Regions from separate parts of the Homo sapiens genome. Here all the other regions are linked to region 3. The links are contacts of gene promoters, found by promoter capture Hi-C in blood cells and fetal thymus (Javierre and others, 2016). All regions are on one chromosome and are shown on one strand. Each heading gives the region's core, a stretch centred on a gene start or on the middle of the fragment in contact. The rest is flanking DNA. Distances are from core to core; before and after follow the strand shown.

Region 1 (2,700 bases), core at 113-2,612, 6.0 Mb before region 3:
TTTACTATGTCTTAAGTGTGACTTTTGAAAGATACAAGTGTTCTGTGCATATTTGTGTAAATAAATACATAATTTTCCACCTTGTATAACTGCCTTAAATTTTTGTATGGTTTAAAAAGAGTCTGCTGTCTCCCTTGGGGGTAGCCTGGTAATTTTTATATTTTACATTTTTCACAAAGGCTGCAATTACCTTAGAACTGTACTCACACTACTTCCACATGAGCGTGTAACACTAAATAGGAGGTATTATGCTATTAACTACCTTTCCGTCTATTAATCACTCAGTCAAGGAACAATGAGTAGCCACATGAATTAAGCATTTTATTTAATTATCACGGACCACCTTAAATATTACTTTACAAAATTCAGGCCTATATTTAAAATAGGTGTCCTGATAACTTCCAGGATATTATTCGGAACACCCGTTTCCCCAACTACGATAAGTCCATTGCCGGATGCTGAATAAACTTCGCCCATTACCACTTGGATTTCTTGATAGTCTGCAAGAGAAAAAAAGCATTATAAAACTCCGAGCTGTGTACTTACCTCACTGTTTTGAGATCTTATCAGCTAATTCAGTTGGTTGTTAACTCAAACTACAAAAGCCAGCAAAACGGGCCAACTTTAGCTTTCCAACGTCCTGCCGCTAAGGCGTTTCAGATTAACTCAGAAATATCAAAAAAGAAATGTACCTTATGTTTCCATCATCCATCGTAATGTGTTCAGCTCAGCTTCCTAGAAACATTGAACAACGGTTTAGAAATTTTGCCCAATAACCCGGCACCCTCTAGGTTTTTAACAGTGAATGTTACTTGTGCAAGTCAGAATCTGATACCAATTAAATGGTGACAGCTTTGCCAATAAACAAGGATATGCTCTTCCATGGCTAGGAAGGGAGACTGCCACGGCTGACAGGTCCCAAAGATACATGGAGATTCACAATCCAGAATTAACCAGCAACCAAACTGCTACAGGTTATTACTCACCATCTGGCTCAAACTGACGGTTCTCGGGGTGCTAGGGCACAAGAGCGACAGAGTAGACTCAAGATGGCCACATGACACAGACGGCTGAACAGGCTTCACCGGAGTCCCCGAGTGCACGGAACCTTTCCCCGAGGGCCCACGGCCCACGCACGCCGGGGTTCAGGGTCCAGGGCTGCACGTGGACGCCCGGCGACCTAATGAGCACTCAAGTCCGCGCATGCTTGTAAACTTAAGGGTTTCCAAAGCCGCCCCCGACCTACCAATATCCTGACTGCGCTGCCTTTTAGGTAAGGCAGTAAGTTTCGGCCCAATTATCATTTTAACTTACGAAAGACAACTACGTACTTTCACCTAATCCCGACGCTTCCCGAATGTGAAAGGCCGAGGCCTTCGGCACACGCTCTCTTATAGAACTGATGACGCTATTCCGGGGGAAGCGCCGCGAGGGGCGGAGCCTATGCTGTTTCACTCCCCGCCCCGCCTAGCCCCGCCGCGGCTCCACCTGTTCCGTCTACCACCCCCTTCGCGGCTCCTTTCCCCCCTCCCCCGCACATGGTCCACGTCTGAGCGGGTCACCTGGCTCCGGATCCAGACGCATGCGCACATACGAGAGCCAAAAGGTTCTCGCATAGCGAAAGATCCTGACGCTTACCGGTGTAGGTCACGAAAGCGAGGGGGATTTTTTTGGTATTTCCTGTTTAGGATACTTATTTTAGACAATATTAGAAAAAGGGGCCGAACGCGGTGGCTCACGTCTGTGATCCCAGCACTTTGGGAGGCCGAGGCGGGCGGATCACTTGAGGTTAGGAGTTGGAGACCAGCCTGGCTAACATGGCGAAACCCCGTTTCTACTAAAAATACAAAAATTAGCCTGGTGTGGTGGTGAACGCCTGTAGTCCCGGCTACTCGGGAGGTTGAGGTGGGAGAATCTCTTGAGCCCGAGAGGCGGAAGTTATGGTGAGCTGAGATCGCTGGTTAGCATTTTACAAATTACCTAATCACTACTCAAAAACAAGAAAAGTCTGAGAAACTATTATGCCAGAGAAAATGATGCATAATGATTAAATGTAATGTGGTATCCTGGCTGGGATCTCCAGCAGAAAAAGGACATTAATGGAAAACTAGCGAATCTGAACAAAGTGTGGAATTTAGGTAATAGTGCCAATACCGATTTCTTTATTGTGACAGATATACCATGGTATTGTAAGATATTAATGGTAGGGGAAATTGGATGAAGGGGGTGTGGGGACTCCATTTTTGCAAATTTTCTGTAAATGTAAAACAAAGTTTAACTTAAAAAAGCAATTATAACCTTACAGTCTATTATACTTTCATTTTAAGACAAAGTAGTGATTTAGTAGTGGTTTCTATCTACTTTAGTGTGAAATTTGTGGCTGAGATGACAGTATTTCTAAGTTTGACTTGAGATCAAACCCAATGAATTTAGCTGCATTCAAACCAAGGCTTTGAGCCTTTGGATATTCAGGAGAGACAATGTGGTAACAAATAAAAGAATTAAAAATTGGTTGGTAAATGAAGATTGGCTTAAGGATTTTATTTTATGTATTTATTTATTTAGAAACATTCTTGCTCTGTTGCCTAGCCTGGAGTGCAGTGGCATGATCTTGGCTCAGTGCAACCTCCACCTCCTAGGCTCAAGCGAGCCTCCTGCTAGGCGTGTGCCACCACTTGGCTACTTTTTTTTTAAGGTTTT
Region 2 (2,700 bases), core at 27-2,526, 6.5 Mb after region 3:
CCGCATAGCTTAATGTTTATTAAATATGACAGCGAATCACTTAGTTGTGTTATAACAGTTTATTATCATGGATTTAAATGACTATGTTTACATGTTTAAAATTATCACATCACTAGTTCTTGCTAGCTTTTGCATTTTCTCCTGTAAACATTGTTTTTACAGATAAGCTTAGGTAAAATAGAAATACACCACCTTCTTTATCAATAATGTAGCACACAATATATTACTAAAGCTGGCATTTTCTTGATATTCAAGAATTTATGACAAGGAATGGGATCCTGGCATTAAGAATAAAGGGGAAAAAAACAAGTCATCTCATCCCAAAACCAGGTAGAAAGTTGGGATGGGAAGTACGTGTATTAGCAAACGTTTTTGAAACCAAAGCAACTTTCATGCAAATTAAACTTTCTATAGAAGTTAAAAACCCAAGAGATACTGCTGTGATGACAAAACATAAGCAAATGGCCCCAAATGAAGCAAGTCCTTTGGAGTAAATGTTAAGTAGTATTCACATAGAACTGCTTTCTGCAATCAGGAAGGGCTGGAATGGAAAACTCAATGCCAAAGAGAGAAGAGAAGTTAGTGTGACCCAAGAGGTCTTGAAGTAACACTTAACAGCAAATATCAAACCACCCCAACCAACGCCTCCAACTGGAAGCTGCCCCATTTCTCCATCAGCAGAGGAAGACATGAGGGACTGGCTAGGGGGAAACTGGGAAACGCGTACTACCGAGAAGCCCAGAGCCCTCAACCCGCACCTTCAGCAGGAGTGGCCAAAAAGGAGTTTGAGGCGGCCCCAGGGCGGGAGAAAAATCAGGACGATGATACCACGCCCTTGTCCTTCCCACCCTTCCCCCGCATCCTCAGCCCTGCAGACCCCCGAAGAAAAGACCAGTTCTTAGGGGGTCGCGGAGGCTGAGAAGCCGGCGGCCCGAGCGCCCTCTTTACCTGGTCGCAGAGGCGCGGCCAGGCAGGGAGGGTGCGTGAGCGTGTCGGCGACCTGGGCCGCCTGCGCCTTCCCGCCCAGTCCGAGCTGGAATTCCAAGGCTGCCTCTGGGAGCTGCTGCCCGCAGACCACTCGCCTCCACAGACGCCAGGAGAAAAACGACAGCCACCTTATGTGGAAAATACTCGCGCCGGCCGTCATTCATAATCCGGCGGACCGGAAAAAGGGAAGTAACGTCACTTCCTACTGTCGCACTGCCAAACGTTTCCCCCGCCCCTACTGTGGGAACCTTTGTTTTCCTGCTTTCGGAGCCGGCCAGTGCGGGAACCGTTTCCGAAGGGACCACCGGGAACAGACGGATCGGCAGGGCGGGGCGGAACGGTGAGTTATGCTGAGCGACTCTGCTCCTGGCCTCCTGGAGGCTCGAGACCCCCGCGCCAGGAGCGAGGTGGGAGAGTAGCTACGTGGGGTATTAGTTTCCTCGCTCCTCAAGGGGAATCATAATTTACGGGCGGTTGCGTGCCCTAGACTGACTGCTCTCCCCTTTCAGTGAGGACTGTGCTTCCTCCGAGGGAGTTGCGGGCCGGGACATGCGGACCGAGCATATTTCTAGGTCTAGGGACAAGGGACTTGGAATCCTGCCTCGGACTTTGTCGGAGGGTTTTAGTGACTTCTCTACGTAGCTCCCTCATTGTCTCTCATCTTTTGGCTCCCCTGTCAAGGACCATCCCCCATTCTAGGACTTCGATGTGTGATGCTTTGATCAAAGGATTGACATTCCTTTTCTAAGTGTTTGCTGTCAGCTTTCAGCCACTTGATTGGTTTGGAATCGGAGCCTTTTCTCCTGCGATTCCAGGTGTCCCTAAGGTATCAGTGTTATCCAGAACCAAGAACTCAGTGGAGGAATGAAAAAGGCAGCATCTTTAAAATAATGTTTATTGGAAGGGGTTGCAAGAGCTTGCGAAGTCATGAAGAACAAAGTTTTTTAGAGCCATTATGAAATGGCAACGATAATACTGCACTCTATGTGAACAGTTTCTGTTTCCTTCATCTGGGGCACGTGCATATGATCAACTTTGGACTTCTTTTGAGATTGCCAGGTAGGGTGAAAAATGGATCTAGGAGAAAGCACATACTTATATTTATATATGAATGCCCAATTTAGACTGGAGAGATCACAGAAGCCTTATAAGGTGACATTTACGCAAAAAACCTAGTTCGTTCATTCGATAAATATTTTTGAGCCCTTATTAAGTTTCAAGCACTAGGGAAATAACAGTGAACAAAACAAGTTCCTGCTGTCATCAAGTTTACAGACCAGTGGGATTAATGAATTAAGCAAGACAGGCGAAAGATTGTGAGAATTTTACAGATAGGAACATTGTACTACAAGTCCCCAGTCGTGAAAGAGGTGATTGCTTTGCTTTTGCTTTTTTGATGTTTGGAGTTTTTTTTGTGGGGGCAGGGGTGAGTTACTTTTGTGATTTTTGCTGAAGGGACCTTGGAAATGGCTACAATTGTGTAGAAGGAGAGATAAGACCACTATACTTTGATCACTTAATTCCAGTAATTCTATAGCCATTATTTTGTTGTACTTTGCAAAGTGGCAAAGAGATAGGCAAAAAGATAAATATAGACTCTGCCCTTAAAGTACTCAGAGTTTTGTAGGGGACATAACACTTGTGCCAAAAAAAAAAAAAAATGCTTCAAGGGAGAAAGTTGCAATACCATGAAAAAGCACTATGAGATATCCT
Region 3 (2,700 bases), core at 16-2,515:
AGGTTTGAATTCCGGAGGGACATTTAATAACAACAAAGCCAACCCCAAAGGAATTTGCTCTAATTTTTTCAATATATATGAAATAAAAAAACACAAAAACGGAATTATGAAATTACTATTCTGTGGATGGTGCATATACAAAACCTAAGCAATATCCCAGGTTTACTCAAGAGAAGTGAAGTTCAGAAGGACTGCAATTTACCTAATGTTACAGGACGTTTGAGTAGCAATCAGGGCAAGGAATTCCTCTCGAAATTTCAAAAACTTAATACGAAAAAATTACACATTGTCCCTGTAGTTATGAGCACCAAGAATCTGAATGCCCATTGGGAACTCTGCAATTCAGCAAGTCTTTGTAGCTACCAGAGTTCATCAGTATCTGGAACCTTATTTTACTCCAGCATCCAAATGACTTCTACTTAAAATCAATCTGAGGCATTAACTCCGGAGCCAGATCCCACCTGCTCTGCCAGGGCTAAAGAGAGGGTCAGATACAGGGATACTAGCTTTGGCGTTAAACCTAAGCTCAGCGCAGGGTGTGTCCAGGTTGCCGTGGAGCCGGTCCTACAGCCCATTAGCGCGAAGCTACCCCTTGTTTCCTGGAGATGATGTCTCCCGTGACTCCTTCCCCGCGTGACAGGGCGCCCTGGCAGGAGGGACACCCCGCCCCCTCTTCTACCTCTTTCCGAGGAGGCCCCAAGACCGGACCCCAGACTGGGCCTCCAAGACGACCACCAGTCTGACGTCTGCTAAGCAGTGAGTGTAGCAGGGCTCTCGACCGCCACCTCCAGCCGCCGGGGGACGGTGAAAGGGATTCCCCGCCGGGGGCCGAAGAGGAGGAGCCACGGGGGCCGGGCCCCTCCCCCAGCGGGCTTACCCTCCGCCGCCGCCTACTCGCTGCAGCCGCCCCGCTTCCTTGCGAAGCAGTCCGAAGCACTGCGTCCAGCAGCAGTTCCCCATCGCATGCCGCCCAGGCGCCGCCGCTCCTCCTCCTCCTCCCGCTCAATGCCCAAACCCAGGCCCGGCAGCTGCATCCGCACGGCACGAGCCGAAATGGGGTTCAAGGACCGAGGGCGGGCCGGCCAGAGCCCGGCGGCGTGAGGGCACGGGGCGACGAAAGACGAGGCGCTAGGGAACAAAGGCAGTGTTTACTCCAGCGGCCGCAGAGCCACCGCTGCGCGAGGGAGGAGCACCGGGCTCAAGGCTCTGGACTCCCTCGCCGTCCGCATGGCCCTTCTCGCCTCAGCTCCTAGCCCAGCGTGAGTGACCGCCTCCAGCTGCCGAAGGAGGCCAGTCCCCGCGAGCCGAGCACCCTGGCCCCGCCCCCAGCGCGCCCAGGCCCCTGCTCGCCGCCAACGCTGCCACACCCCCGGCCTCTCCCGCGCCCCAATTGGGCGCGCTACCTCGGTGCCCCGCCTTCTCTGGCGACCGGCCTGTGCGTCACTTCCGCTCGCTCCTGGTTCAGCCGCCTCTGCCTGCGAGACGGTTCAATTCCTGCGTGCGGACGTTTGTTTTGTTGGACCTTGACCTGACTAGGAAATTTCCCTCTCTCATTGCAGTTTCGGGCATCCTCGTCCGGAGCACGCTGGGCGTGGCATGGCTAAGGCTCAGCCTTCGAACTTTGTATCAAAGGCGTGTGAGGAGCCAGAGTCCCAGGCCGGAAGTCATAAGTGCGAAGGGGCGTTTCTCTGCACGGTGTGCTTAGTTTTTGTTAATACTGCACCATAAGCGGAAAATAGACTCGGGAACTGATTGAGGTTACTTTGAACGCACCAAGATTTTTTTCCGGTCTCTGGTTTGTGTCTTAATTTCCATACTGTTAATGTTTTAGGGAAACGTAATAATGGTGCATTATTGTCCTCGTTTTGTTTGAAAATCAGATCTTCACATAATTTTGGGTTGGGTAGTTGGGGTTCAGAGGAAATTGGCAAGAGGGCTGGGGTTTTTCGGGGACGTCAGCGTTGCCATTCCAAGCATGCTGCCCAGAACTGCTGTAGATGGGAAGAGAAAGCTGCTCTAATGTGTCCGCAGCCCTCTCAAGTGCTACCATATAATTCGCGTCTTGTTTGGCCTCAAGACAGTTGGCCTCACAATAGATATAAGATGTGGTTTAGTAGACACCTCGTCCAGTGGATAGGAGGATGCTCTCATGGACTGGACACATCAAGTTTTTAGCCTGTTTAATTAAACCTAGAAAAATTGTTACATTTTAGAAAGTTTTTATTGATGATAAAATGTTCTCTGAACTCATTTTCTTGCTTCTTTAAATACGTATCTGGTTTCAATCTTAGCACTGCTACTTACTAATGTTTATTTTATTTGGGTTTTAGTTGTTTTGTAATCAGAAGCATAGGATAACATTTGTCCCAATGGTTTGCTTTCAGTGAATGTTGGGATGACCGAATGACTTCCTAGTGAAAGCATTTTCTTTTCTCCTTCCAACCCCTGAAATTAGACAAATGTATTAATGAAATAATCATTAAAATTCAACTATAAATGTTTACAGAAACTGGTACATCTATCCTATGGAATATTTAGTAACAAATAGGAACACAGTATTGATGAACACACCCTGAAATGAATCTGTAGGAAATTATGGTTAAAGAAAAAGCCAATCTCAAATGCTTATATACTGTGTAATTCCATTATGTAACATCTCAGAATTGATAAATTTATGTAAGTGGACAACAGAATAATTGA

The links. Contacts are between HindIII fragments. The CHiCAGO score rates a contact against its expected background, and 5 or more counts as called.
Region 1: the fragment with the promoter of SNHG8 here is called in contact with the fragment with the promoter of AP1AR in region 3 in 1 of 17 cell types (non-activated CD4 T cells); the score reaches 8.2 in non-activated CD4 T cells.
Region 2: a contact is called between the fragment with the promoter of INTS12 here and the fragment with the promoter of AP1AR in region 3, in 1 of 17 cell types (total CD4 T cells). The highest score is 6.4, in total CD4 T cells.

The regions. Positions count from the first base shown.
Region 1 is chr4:118,277,424-118,280,123 of GRCh38, reverse strand. It overlaps SNHG8 (small nucleolar RNA host gene 8), which reads right to left and starts at 1,362. Exons shown (of 3, transcript NR_034011.1): 1 at 1,332-1,362; 2 at 693-735; 3 at 301-500. It overlaps SNORA24 (small nucleolar RNA, H/ACA box 24), which reads right to left and starts at 934; the gene lies at 804-934. It overlaps PRSS12 (serine protease 12), which reads left to right. Exons shown (of 13, transcript NM_003619.4): 13 at 1-86. RefSeq lists a silencer at 1,535-1,584 and an enhancer at 1,655-1,834. The HindIII fragment of the contact is 13,799 bases long and covers 1-2,700 here.
Region 2 is chr4:105,707,265-105,709,964 of GRCh38, reverse strand. It overlaps INTS12 (integrator complex subunit 12), which reads left to right and starts at 1,276. Exons shown (of 8, transcript NM_020395.4): 1 at 1,276-1,327. It overlaps GSTCD (glutathione S-transferase C-terminal domain containing), which reads right to left and starts at 1,181. Exons shown (of 12, transcript NM_001370181.1): 1 at 949-1,181. It overlaps LOC124900747 (a long non-coding RNA gene), which reads right to left. Exons shown (of 2, transcript XR_007058214.1): 2 at 1,869-2,064. RefSeq lists an enhancer at 952-1,201. The HindIII fragment of the contact is 4,662 bases long and covers 170-2,700 here.
Region 3 is chr4:112,230,352-112,233,051 of GRCh38, reverse strand. It overlaps AP1AR (adaptor related protein complex 1 associated regulatory protein), which reads right to left and starts at 1,265. Exons shown (of 10, transcript NM_018569.6): 1 at 878-1,265. The coding sequence starts at 960. It overlaps AP1AR-DT (AP1AR divergent transcript), which reads left to right and starts at 902. Exons shown (of 1, transcript NR_186684.1): 1 at 902-2,700. RefSeq lists enhancers at 471-520, 545-1,492 and silencers at 731-1,000, 1,161-1,440. The HindIII fragment of the contact is 11,290 bases long and covers 1-2,700 here.